Linked DNA regions of Homo sapiens: all the other regions are linked to region 1. The links are contacts of gene promoters, found by promoter capture Hi-C in human tissues and cell types (Jung and others, 2019). All regions are on one chromosome and are shown on one strand. The core of a region is centred on a gene start or on the middle of the fragment in contact, and the rest is flanking DNA. Distances in the headings are between cores, read along the strand shown. Region 1 holds the start of MC5R (melanocortin 5 receptor). Region 2 has its middle 130 kb from the start of POTEC. Region 3 has its middle 120 kb from the start of POTEC. Region 4 has its middle 150 kb from the start of POTEC.

Region 1 (3,104 bases), core at 442-2,941:
AAGCTCTGGTAGTGATATGGCCCCGTGCATCCTGCCCTGGCTTGCAGGGCAGTGGCACTTCTGCTTATTGTGAGTATAATGATTCTTTTGGGGGTTGAAGGTCAGTTTTAGGTGTCAGAGAAGGAGTGGGGTCCAGAAACTATTGCGAAAGGCCAGGATATTTGGTGAGAGGACATCCTTTGTTCTTTTTTGCTGGAGTAAGGAAAGCCTGTGTGGTTGATAAAGCCTGGCATGGCATGTGTAGTCCTGGAGGAGGGGTGAGAGCCTTGGGCAAAGAGGGGCGTGGTAGGGCCACAGATGAGGGCTCCCAGGCACTGGGCCTCCTTCCCAAAGAACAATCATCAGGACATCCCAGAGACCACTGTCCAGGAGAAACGGGGTGACAAGCCCTCTTTGAGCTCGGGAGCATTTTAATCAGTGCTCAAGAGGAAGAGAAAAGAAACAAAAAGTGCAACCAGCCAGAAAAACAACCAAGCAGCTACCCACCCAACCACCCATCCACCCACCCACTGACCCAACCAACCACTCCCCCACCCAACCACCTATCCATCCACCCACCGACCCAACCAACCAACCAACCAACCACCCACACAACCACCCATCCACCCAACCCACTGACCCAACCAACCAAACCAAGCAACCACCCACCCAACCACCCATCCACCCACCCACTGACCCAACCAACCTAGCAACCACTCACCCAACCACCCATCCATCCACCCACTGACCCAGCCAACCAACCAACCAACCAACCACCCTCCCAACCACCCATCCACCCACCCACTGACCCAACCAACCAACCAAGCAACCACCCACCCAACGACCCACCCACCCACCCACTGACCCAACCAACCAACCAAGCAACCACCCACCACCCACCCACCCACTGACCCAACCAACCAACCAAGCAACCACCCACCTACCCAACCAACCCCCACTTACCCAATCAACCAACCAAGCAACCATCCACTCACCCAACCAACCACCCACCCACCCAAGCAACCAATCAACGAACCAAGCAACCACCCACCTACCCAACCAACTACCCCCCACCCACCCAAGCAAGCGAGCAAGCGAGCAAGCAACCAAGTAACCATCTACTCACTCAACCAAGCAACCACCCACCTACCCAACCAACCAATCAACCAACCAAGCAACCACCCACCTACCCAACCAACCAATCAACCAACCAAGGAACCACCCACCTACCCAATCAACGAACCCCCCACCCAACCAGCCAAGCAACCAAGTAACCATCCACTCACCTAACCAATCAACCAATCAACCAATCAGGCAACCACCCACCTACCCAACTAACTAACCCGTAACCACCCAACCAACCAAGCAAGCAACCACCTGCTCACCCAACCAACCAATCACCAAACAAGCAACCACCCACCCACCCACTCAACCAACCAACTACCCAACCAAGCAACCACTCACCCAACCAACCATTCAACCGACCGACCGACCGACCGACCGACCCACCGACCCGACCGACCAACCAACCAACCAAGCAACCATCCAACCATTCAAGAGTGTGTTCGGGGGGATTTTCGCTCGGGGCTGACGCGGTTCTCTGGCCGCTGTGCCGTGCTGGGCCACTAGGTGGCAGCGGAGGCCGCCCGGAGCGACAGCCGGCGGTGCGGAGGCGGGCCCGGCGCGGGCAGGCAGGAGGCTTAAAGCCCCGCAGAGCCGCAGCCGCCTAGCTGGGGGAGAGGCCCGTCCGGGGCTGGCTCTGAGCGCCGCACGGCCGTCGGATCCCGGGGACGCCGGGGGCCCGGGCTGAGCGCCGCGGCCCGCGAGGAGGAGCACCGGTAAATAGCCACAACTTTCTATCTCCTTGAGATCCTGAGAATAAATGCAAAATCGCGCTTCCGCTGCATGTGGAAGTGAGCGGGGCGGCAGCTAGCTTGCCCCGTGAGTTTTTAACACAGCTCGATATGATGTTTAGTATAATTGCATAATTTACCGATATATCTGAGCTGGAACTCAGCTGTAACAAATGATTGTAGTTCAATAAATGCTTAGATTACCAATTTTTTCCTTTTTTATTTTTATAGATTTAGGGGGTACAGGTGCTGTTTTGTTATATGGATGTATTGCATAGTGGTGGAGACTGGGCTTTTAGTGTAGCCATCACCCCTATAGTGTACATTGTACCTATTAAGTAATTTGTTGTCCCTCACCCCCTCCCTCCCTCCCAAAGTGATTACAAATATTAATGATGACAGTGATGACAGAAATTCTCTCCAGATGTGATCTGAGTTTGGAGGGCAAAGGGATTTTTGAAAATGAATCATAAGAGAGAAATTTTGCAACAAAGGAGTGTGGTACATTTAAATTGCTGTTTTTTTTTTTAAATACTGTGCTCACGCGGACCTAATAAACTATCAAGCAGACCTCATGGAATTCCACATAATGCAGAAGCGAGGGAAAAATAGGTATTGAGGGAAAAGCAGCACTGTTTTCCTCAATTTTAACACGTATGTGCAGCCTACACTTACAAACTTAAGACAGTAGCTTTTAACATGTGACTTTGCTCAGGGTAACAGACCATTCTGGTTATAGCCTTACTTACAGCTGTGGAGGCTGAATCCTGATGGGTCTAAGAAGTGTCAGGACAAGTGTTAGGGATGCACCTGTCTGTCTGTCTTAAGGGAATACGGGTCTGGGCAGTCTTAAATCGGAGCTCCCTTGAGGAGAATGTCGTGCAGTAGCCTTAGGAATGTGAACATTGGGAGACTGGCTGGGATTTTGTAGGTTATGAGTTGGGGACACTTATGATAGTGAACTTGAGCCCAGGAGAGAAGCCATAAAAAGTGAAACTGTCCTGGGCACTTGGAGGTGAGTGTCTCTCTAGTAAGATGCATGTGAAAGGCTGGGAGCTGAAAGCAAGGAGAGCAGAAGAGGCTGGTGAAGATTCTAATCTGCGTGTCCAGGGGCACTCTTCCAGGTCTCAGGAACGCAGGTCAGAATGTGCAAGCCAGCTGCCGGGCACGTGGCTCACCCCTGTAGTACCAGCACTTTGGGAGGCTGAGAGAGAAGATCGCTTGTGGCCAGGAGTTTGAGACCAGACTGGGCAACATAGGGAGACCCTGTCT
Region 2 (3,321 bases), core at 212-2,711, 590 kb after region 1:
AGTGAGAACTATCCCTGTTTTCCCACCTGATTGTTGCCTTTTGGCCCACCCCACACCACCCCCTATCCTGTGCCCATAAGAATCCCAAGCCCCAGACTCAGTGGACACACACACAGAAGAGAGAAGTGTCTGGATATTGAGATGAGAAGAAGCAGCTGGAGGTCAGGGACTATGGTCAGAGAGGAGTTCAGCTGGAGACATCTGGGCTTCAGGGGAAGATTATCTTCCTGCTCCATCCCCTTTCCAGCTCCCTTTCCTACTGAGGCCCACTTTTACCACTCAATAAAGTCCTCCACATTCACCATCTTCAATTTGTTCATGTGACCTGATTCTTCCTGGACACTGGATCAGAACTCAGGTACCAAGACAGCAAAGTGTAAAAGGCTGTCACCCTCACCTTCCACTGAGCTGGTTAACACTTAGCCATCCACAGACAGCAAATGTTAAAGGAGCACTGATTGTAACACAGGCCCTCTGGGGCTCTGGGGGTCGCAGACAGCCCCTCCCAGACCGCAGAGCTAAAAGACCATTGTAACACACTTTGACACTGCTGCAGAACCCACACAAAGCTTGCTCCCGCCGGAGAGGAGCCACAGGCCAGTTCCACATTCATTTGCTCTGGGTCCCACACCCATCCACTCATGTGCTTCCTTCCATAAGGGATTCAGCATGGTAAACAAGTAAACAAGTCACTCATGTCACAAGTCCCGCAAAGGGGTCAAGGGAACACTCTTGTTTCAGAACCACTGAAGAAATTCAAAGAATCTGTGATAAGCTTCTTAACAGTGCCCTGGGATCTTGTGATTTCCCAGGATAGAAATCAAGAGAGATCACCAGAGGCAGCAATGAAGAGAGTTTATTACCTCTCAGGGAGCCAGTCATGAGAGAACAAAAAGGAGTGGGCTGTTCCCCGAAGATACTGTGTGGTTCGGTTAGGTATAGGGTCTTTCCATAGGGAAGGATTCCCTCAGGGAATGTATAGGGGGAGTTTTGCTAGCACCTGCACAATGGCTCAACATGTTTCTTCATACATTTCATGTAGCATTAGCATTTTAAATCTCCACCCCTGGGCATGAACTTTAGTGTTAAAATGAGGAAAAGATAACTTTAGGTTGGAGTTTAAGTCTGACTCCACATATGGGACTCTGGGAAAGCCTCTAGCCCCCTGAAATAGAAATTTGCAATTAATAGCTTCCTTGGTCTTTTATTGCTGATTGGCTGAGAGTTAGACAAGCTAGAGCTTGAGTAGAGGGGCTTTTATCCTTTTCCTTCAGACAATCTTAAGATAGGGAACCAACCAGTCGGCCTGTCTCAGGCTCTAAGGAAAATTCTGAGAGGTCAGCAAGAAACCTAATATTATAAACAACAGTGCCATCAGCACTTATTTAAATATATAAATATAAATTTTAAAGGCCCTATTAAAGTCATTCTGAGCCTGTACATTTAAACCGTTCTAAAGGTTTACGGGTATTTAGATACGAGAAGAAATTAGACCCAAATTATGCATCAATATCCAATACGTGTGCACTGTGTATTCAAGATCAATATAATCTCCCACAGACTGTTCTGCTGAGTTAGCTAATATACAAAGACTTAGTTTGTTTTCTATATGTTAGAACATGAAAGAAAAGATATGTAGCTCACTGCCATTCCAAAATCCCAACAAATTATGGAACTGCCTCCATTGTGAAGCTGGCTAGTTTTCTTTTTTTTTTTTTTTTTTAACGGAGTTTCACTCTTGTCGCCCAGGCTGGAGTACAGTTGAGCAATCTCAGCTCACTGCAACCTCTGCCTTCTGGGTTCAAGCGAGTCTCCTGCCTCAGCCTCCCAAGTAGCTGGGATTACAGGCATCTGCCACCACACCCGGCTAATGTTTTGGAATTTTAATAGAGATGGGGTTTCACCATGCTGGGCAAGCTGGTCTCGAACTCCTGACCTCAGGTGATCTGTCCACCTTGGCGCTAGTTGTTTTTTAAAAGCCATCTTTCTAATGAAATGTAACACTGATGATTGCCTTACACATAGATGACATTAGGCCTCACATAGTAATCTCAGTGCTAACTACATGTCTTACCCTTCCTAAAATTTTACATTTTCTCTGTGGTTAAAGTCATCTTACAAAAAGACCCACATTTTACAAAGATTTAATTGTCTTGGATTTCAAATTACAACTAGTTTGATAGCCAAAAGGTTAAAAACAAATTGATTTTATGAAAAATTCTTATAGTATTAAATTCGACATGGATTACCATTAATAATAGAATCCTCTGCTGGCTGTGAGACATGCAAAGTTGCAAAGCCCAGATCCACAGATTAGAAAGGATTTTGACATGTATAATTGTCTTAGTCAGTTTGGGCTGCTATAACAAGATATCATAGACTGAGTGATTTAAACAACAGAGATTGATTTCTGGAGTTCTGGAGCCTAGGATAGTCCAGGGTCAGGGTGTCAGCAGACTGTGACTGGTGAAGACCCCCTTCCTGGTTTGCAGATGCTGTCTTCTTGTATCCTTAGATGGTGGAGAGAGAGATCATCTTTTCTTATAAGGGCAGGAATCACACCTATGAGGGCTCCACATTCATGACCTAATCACCTCCCCAAGGCCCCACCTCCAAATATCATCAACTTGGGGGTTAGGCTTCAATATATGAATTCTGGGGGGACACAGATATTCATTCACAGTAATAGTGAGCACTGTTGACAGCACACACAGATACCCCACATTCTTTTGCTCTTTCTGTAAGCCTCTTCCAGCTGCTTTGTGCTTTGCTTCCGAAGGCCTGCAACTGAGACTTTTTTTTTTTTTGAGACTGAGTCTTCCTCTGTCACCCAGGCTGGAATGCAGTGGCATGATCTCAGCTTACTGCAACCTCTGCCTCCTGGGTTCAAGCAATCCTCCTGCTTCAGCCTCCTGAGTAGCTGGGATTACAGGCACCTGCCACCAAACCTGGCTAGTTTTTGTATTTTTAGTAGAGATGAGGTTTCACTATATTGGCCAGGCTGGTCTCAAACTCCTGACCTCTTGATCCGCCTGCCTCAGCCTTCCAAAGTGCTGGGATAACAGGCATGAGCCACCACACCCGGCTGCAACTGAGACTGTCTTTAAGGATCTCTGCATGGAGCTGGGAGAATGGGGAGTTTTAACCCTCTGTGCAGTTCTTAGGCAATGACTGACTGACTGGTCCAAGTGTCTGACAATCTGACTCCCTGGCCTCAAGCTGGATGAGGCTGAAGCTGGACTTTGACAAAATCACACACTTTCTTGGGTTCTCTCTCTTCCATATCCTTCTTTCCCTTCTCCTTCCCTGTCTTCCTCTGAG
Region 3 (3,446 bases), core at 823-3,322, 600 kb after region 1:
CCCCCCAGGAATCCATTCCTTCCCCAGGGTATCAATTATTAATATTCCTTGCTGGGAAAAGAATTCAGCGATATCTCTCCTACTTGCACGTCTGTTTATAGGCTCTCTGCAAGAAGAAAAATATGGCTCTATTCTGCCTGACCCAACAGGCAGTCAGACCTTTGGTTGTCTTCCCTTGTTCCCTAAAATCGCTGTTATTCTGTTCATTTTCAAGGTGCACTGATTTCATATTGTTCAAACACCCATGTTTTACAGTCAGATTTCATATTGTTCAAACACACATGTTCTACAATCAATTTGTACAATAGTGGTCCTGAGGTGACGTACATTTTCAGCTTAGGAAGATAACAGGATTAAGAGATTAAAGTAAAGACAGGCATAAGAAATTCAAAGAGTGCTACATGGGAACTGATAAATGTCCCTGAAATTGTCACAATTTATGTTCAGAGATTGCAGTATAGACAGGTGTTAGAAATTATAAAAGTATTAATTTTGGGAACTGATAAATGTCCATGAAATCTTCACAATTTATGTTCCTCTGCTGTGGCTCCAGCTGGTCCCTCTGTTTGGGGTCCCTGACTTCTGGCAACATTATAGGAATGCTTATGATTTTAGCCCATTAATTTTGTATCCTGAGACTTTGCTGAACTTGCTTATCAGCTTAAGGAGATTTTGGGCTGAGACGATGGGGTTTTCTAAATATACAATCATGTCATCTGCAAATAGGGACAATTGGACTTCCTCATTTCCTAATTGAATACCCTTTATTTCTTTCTCTTGCCTGATTGCCCTGGCCAGAACTTCCAACACTGTGTTGAACAGGAGTGGTGAGAGAGGGCATCCCTGTCTTGTGGTGGTTTTCAAAGGGAATGCTTCCAGTTTTTGCCCATTCAATATGGTGTTGGCTGTGGGTTTGTTTTAAATATCTCTTATTATTTTGAGATACATTCCATCATACCTAGTTCATTGAGAGTTTTTAGCATGAAGGGCTGTTGAATTTTGTCAAAGGCCTTTTCTGCATCTATTGAGATAATCATGCGGTTTTCGACATTGGTTCTGTTTAAGTGATGGATTACATTTATTAATTTGTGTATGTTGAACCAGCCTTGCATCCCAGGGATGAAGCCCACTTGATCATGGTGGATAAGTTTTTGATGTGCTGCTGGATTTGGTTTGCCAGTATTTTATTGAGGATTTTCGCATTGATGTTCATCAGGGATATTGGTCTAAATTTCTCTTTTTTTGTTGTGTCTCTGCCAGGCTTTGGTATCAGGATGATGTTGGCCTCATAAAATGAGTTAGGGAGGATTCCCTCTTTTTCTGTTGATTGGAATAGTTTCAGAGGGCATGGTACCAGCTCCTCTTTGTACCTCTGGTAGAATTCGGCTGTGAATCCGTCTGGTCCTGGACTTTTTTTGGTTGGTATGCTATTAATTATTGCCTCAATTTCAGAACCTGTTATTGGTCTATTCAGAGATTCAACTTCTTCCTAGTTCTGTCTTGGGAGGGTGTGTATGTCCAGGAATTTATCCATTTCTTCTAGATTTTCTAGTTTATTTTCATAGAGGTGTTTATAGTATTCTCTGGTGGTAGTTTATATTTCTGTGAGATTGGTGGTGATATCCCCTTTATCATTTTTATTGAGCATATTTGATTCTTCTCTCTTTTCTTCTTTATTAGTCTTGCTAGCAGTCTATCTATTTTGTTGATCTTTTCAAAAAACCACTTCCTGGATTCACTGATTTTTGGAACGGTTTTTTGTGTCTCCATCTCCTTCAGTTCTGCTCTGATCTTAGTTATTTCTTGCCTTCGGCTAGCTTTTGAATTTGTTTACTCTGGCTTCTCCAGTTCTTTTAATTTTGATGTTAGGCTGTTGATTTTAGATCTTTCCTGCTTTCTCTTGTGGGCATTTAGTACTATAAATTTCCCTCTACACACTGCTTTACATGTGTCCCAGAGATTCTGGTATGTTGTTTCAAAGAATATCTTTATTTCTGCCTTCATTTCATTTTTTATCCAGTAGTCACTCAGGAACAGGTTCTTCAGTTTCCATGCATTGTGCAGTTTTGAGTGAGTTTCTTAATCCTGAGTTCTAATTTGATGGCACTGTGGTCTGAGAGACAGTTTGTTGTGATTTCTGTACTTTTACATTTGCTGAGGAATGTTTCACCTCCAATTATGTGGTCAATTTTAGAATAAGTGTGATGTGGTGCTGAGAAGAATATATATTCTGTAGAGTTGGGGTGGAGAATTCTGTAGATATCTATTTAGGTCCATGTGGTGCAGAGCTGAGTTCACGTCCTGGATATCCTTGCTAAGCTTCTGTCTCATTGATCTACTATTGAGAGTGGGGTGTTGAAGTCTCCCATTATTATTGCATCAGAGTCTAAGTCTCTTTGTAGGTCTCTAAGGACTTGCTTTACGAATCTGGGTGCTCCTGTATTAGGTGCATATATATTTAGAATAGTTAGCTCTTCTTGTTCAATTGATCCCTTTACCATTATGTAATGACCTTCTTTGTCTCTTTTGATCTTTGTTGGTTTAAAGTCTGTTTTATCAGAGATTAGGATGGCAACCCCTGCTTTTTTTGCTTTCCATTTGCTTGGTAGATCTTCCTCCATCCCTTTATTTTGAGCCTATGTGTGTCTCTGCATGTGAGATGGGCCTCCTGAATACAGCACACTGATGGTTTTGACTGTTTATCCAATTTGCAAGTCTGTGTCTTTTAATTGGGGCATTTTGCCCATTTACATTTAATAGTGTTATATGTGAATTTGATCCTGTCATTATTATGTTTGCTGGTTACTTTGCCCCTTAGTTGATGTAATTTCTTCATAGTGCTGATGGCCTTTGCAATTTGGCATATTTTTGCAGTGGCTGGTACCAGTTGTTCATTTCCATGTTTAGCGCTTCCTTCAGGAGCTCTTGTAAGGCAGGCCTGATGGTGACAAAATCTCTCAGCATTTGCTTGTATGTAAAGGATTTTATTTATCCTTCACTTATGATGTGTAGTTTGGCTGGATATGAAATTCTGGGTTGGAAATTCTTTTCTTTAAGAATGTTGAATATTGGCCCCCACTCTTTTCTGGCCTGTAGGGTTTCTGCTGAGAGTTCCGCTGTTAGTCTGATGGTTTTCTCTTTGTGGGTAACCCGACCTTTCTCTCTGGCTGCCCTTAACATTTTTTCCTTCATTTCAACCTTGGTGAATCTGACAATTATGTGTCTTGGAGTTGCTCTTCTCGTGGAGTATCTTTGTTGTATTCTCTGTATTTCCTGAATTTGGATGTTGGCCTGCCTTGCCAGGTTGGGGAAATTCTCCTGGATAATATCCTGAAGAATGTTTTCTAACTTGGTTCCATTCTCCCTGTCACTTTCAGGTACACCAATCAAATGTAGATTTGGTCTATTCACATAGTCCCATATTTTTTGGAGGCTTTGTTCATTAC
Region 4 (3,054 bases), core at 294-2,793, 570 kb after region 1:
CGATGGCCGGGCAGTTGTTCTGGGCTGCTATGTGTAGCGGGGTGTTGTTGTCAAAATCCCTGCTGTCCCGGTCGGCCCCGCAGTCGAACAGCACTTTGACCACGTGCAAGGAGGGGAATCTGCCCACGGAGTAGCGGCCCACGTTTGTGGTGTCCTTGTCCACAGCCATGTGCAGAGGGGTGAAGCCGTTCTTGCCCTTGGGTGCGCACTTGAGCGGCGGTAGATAGTCTGGTGCTTCAGGTGCTCCTGGCTGGGGGTGCACTCCACTTTCTCCAGCAGGTAGAGCAGGTGGAGGATGATGACCAGCGCCTTGTTGAACTGGGTCGAGTCTCTAGGCTCCCTGAGCAGCTGCAGGGCCCATTCCACTTCCCGGACCCCTTTGGTGAGGACCCCCATGAGGTCTGCAAAGCCGATCTGGCTGCCCAGGCTGCCTTTGGCAGCCCGGTCCTGCAGCACGTAGGAGAAGAGTTCGGCGAAGGAGAGGAAGCTGCTGGCGGTCATGGGGCTCAGAGGCTCCAGGTTGCTCTGTTGCATGTCCAGGGCATACTTCCACAAGCGGATGTAGCACTCGATATTGCCCGAGTCGGCGTACACGGCGCCCCTGTAACGGATACAATAGGAAGTGTCGGGGTGCGAGGGACTGAGGATGCGCTCCCGGATCAACAGGGCCTGCATACGCATCTCATCGGGGTCGGTGATCAGCGCCTCCAGCTCCTCGGTGGTGTTGACCTCCCTGGAATAGTCATAGGCCAGGACCAGCTATGGGGGCTCCAGTTTGGGCAGGTACTCACCCCCCTGGTGACGCAGCTCCATGGCCCGCCTCCAGTGTTTAAGGGCCCCAAGCAGATCTCGTTTCTTATCCACATACGTAGATCCCAGCAATTTCAAGGCTTCCACGGCAGCTTCCCAGCTGGTGGGACAGCAGCTTTGGTAAGATTCCCCCGTTCAGTACCTCAGGGGAGAAGATGCAGCACGGAGCCCCCTGAGGCTGCGTACACCCCTGGCTGGTGGAGGAGCCTTCTTGGGGCAGCCCAGGCTGAGCCTCTACCCCTGTGACCCGCTCCTGGCCGGGCTGCTCTTGGATGAGGTACTCCACGATGTTGGTGTGGCCCGTCACGCTGGCCGGGAGCAACGGGGTCATGCCGTAGCTATCACGTTCCATGCTGGCCTTGCACCCCAGCAGCAGCTGCAGGATCTCCAGGCTGCTGGTCTCGGCACAGTTGTGCAGGGCCGTGTTGCCCTTGGCGCTGCGCCAGTTCACCTGGGCGCCCTGCTCCAGCAGGTAGCGGGCGATCTCACGGTGGCCCTTGTAGCACGAGATCATGAGGCACGTGTGGCCGTGCCGGTTGGCCAACTCCAGGTTGGCCTGGTGCTCGCCGACCAGGTAGCGCACCACCTCCAGGAGGCCCTCGAAGCAGGCGGCGCGGAGGGGCGTGGAGTTGGTGCGCGTGGTGCGGTTCACCGAGGCCCCGCGGCGCAGCAGGCTCCCCACCACGTCCAGGTGGTCCGCGCCCACAGCGGCGGCGCACCCTCCATGGTCTCGCCATCGAAGTGCACCGAGCCACCGGCCTCCACGCTCGCGCCGCACGGGTCCACCAGGTACTCCACCACGTCCAGGTGGCCGTAGCAGGCGGCGATGAGCAGAGGCGTCCCCCCGCCGGCCACCTAGCCAGTCAGCTCGTCCAGTTCCTCCCGGCTCCGGCCGCTGAGCAGCTTCTGGAGCAGCTGCAGCTTGCCGTCACGGGCGGCGTTGTACACGGCGGTGCGGGGGTCTTTGGTTCGGGCCTGCGCCAGGCCATGAGCCGGCCGCAGGGGGAGGGGGAGACAGAGGATCACAGCCCAGACAGGCGGGAGCCAACCTTCACGGTCTCCCTCGCCGCCATCTTAGGGTGTCCTAGAGACTTTTAAATATGCAGATTATTGACCTGAGAAACCATTTCGTCTCCAAAGGAACATTTGCAGGCTGTCATGCAAATCTGCACTTGAGCAACTTTCACATTATGATCTTAGTGAATTCTTGACCAGATGGACTTGAACAGCTGCCACCCATGCTTGGGAAGTCCCTTTACTCGAGAAGAGAAAATAGCTCATTTGTTTGCAATTCTTTCCTGAAAGTACATAAGGGCAATTTTCTACATTGTGACTAGTATCAGAGCAACATTTTCCCTGAAAGACCATAGTTCATTATACTATTTAGGAACAAACAAACAAAAATATATACAAACATTTTTTGGGGAGTTTTATAATTTGTGCCCAGAAGGGACAAGTTTCTTTTCAGATTAAGTTTTAAAAAATGTTCCTTTATTCAAGCTGACATGGAGGTTATAACTGAGAAAAACCTCCCTCTGAAATTAGAATGCCTTACATTTGTATAACATTTTATACTTTTCAAAGTGCTTTCAGGCACATTATTTCATCTGATCTTCAAAACAGCTCAGTGAGGCAGGTAAAATGGGTGTTTTTATTCCTTACTTTTTAGATAAGGAAATAGGTTCAGACTACAGATATTATCTGAGTATCTACTAACTTCATTGTATTGTGCTAGGTGTCATAGAGGATAAAATAACATGTATTCCTAAAAGAAGAACCTTGGTTTTAGATAAGACATAACAACACAAAGCTAAATAATACATAAATGTACAATATGGTCAAAAGATGACAAAAGACAATATATGGTCAAAGTATTAGAAGCACAAGCAAACTGTGTTCTCAGATTAAGGGAGACTTCTTAAAGCAGGTGCCACCCGAATATATATGCCTGGAAGGAGGTTTGGAATTTGTGGAATATTTACTCTTTGGCATCAAAATCACTTTCTCATATAACCTTAGAATGTAAGAGATTTTGGCATTCATCTAGTTTGTTCTGATACTCGATGTTGGCACTCCCTATGGCCCCCTAAGCAAAGATGTTGGAATAGCTATGAGTCTTAACAATTCTATCTATATGCAGCTGCAATCTCCATTTCTATAATTCTACCCTTTGTTGACCAGAGTAAAACAAGACTAATCTATTTTCTCTTTCTGTGGAAAGCCTTTGCTATGTCTGTAGTCAGC

Evidence for each region. Contacts are between HindIII fragments. The study calls those that stand out against the background at their distance.
Region 2: a fragment that was not itself captured here is called in contact with the fragment with the promoter of MC5R in region 1 in 2 of the 25 tissues and cell types used here (lymphoblastoid cells and spleen).
Region 3: a fragment that was not itself captured here is called in contact with the fragment with the promoter of MC5R in region 1 in 1 of the 25 tissues and cell types used here (dorsolateral prefrontal cortex).
Region 4: a fragment that was not itself captured here is called in contact with the fragment with the promoter of MC5R in region 1 in 1 of the 25 tissues and cell types used here (dorsolateral prefrontal cortex).

Annotation. Positions count from the first base shown.
Region 1 is chr18:13,822,458-13,825,561 of GRCh38, forward strand. It overlaps MC5R (melanocortin 5 receptor), which reads left to right and starts at 1,692. Exons shown (of 2, transcript NM_005913.3): 1 at 1,692-1,817. RefSeq lists silencers at 1,361-1,541, 1,507-1,796, 1,807-1,896. The HindIII fragment of the contact is 21,381 bases long and covers 1-3,104 here.
Region 2 is chr18:14,408,554-14,411,874 of GRCh38, forward strand. No RefSeq gene overlaps it. Among named protein-coding and RNA genes, the nearest start is that of POTEC, 130 kb to the right of the region's middle. The HindIII fragment of the contact is 5,013 bases long and covers 1-3,321 here.
Region 3 is chr18:14,424,161-14,427,606 of GRCh38, forward strand. No RefSeq gene overlaps it. Among named protein-coding and RNA genes, the nearest start is that of POTEC, 120 kb to the right of the region's middle. The HindIII fragment of the contact is 3,526 bases long and covers 310-3,446 here.
Region 4 is chr18:14,392,134-14,395,187 of GRCh38, forward strand. It overlaps the pseudogene FEM1AP2. Among named protein-coding and RNA genes, the nearest start is that of POTEC, 150 kb to the right of the region's middle. The HindIII fragment of the contact is 3,708 bases long and covers 1-3,054 here.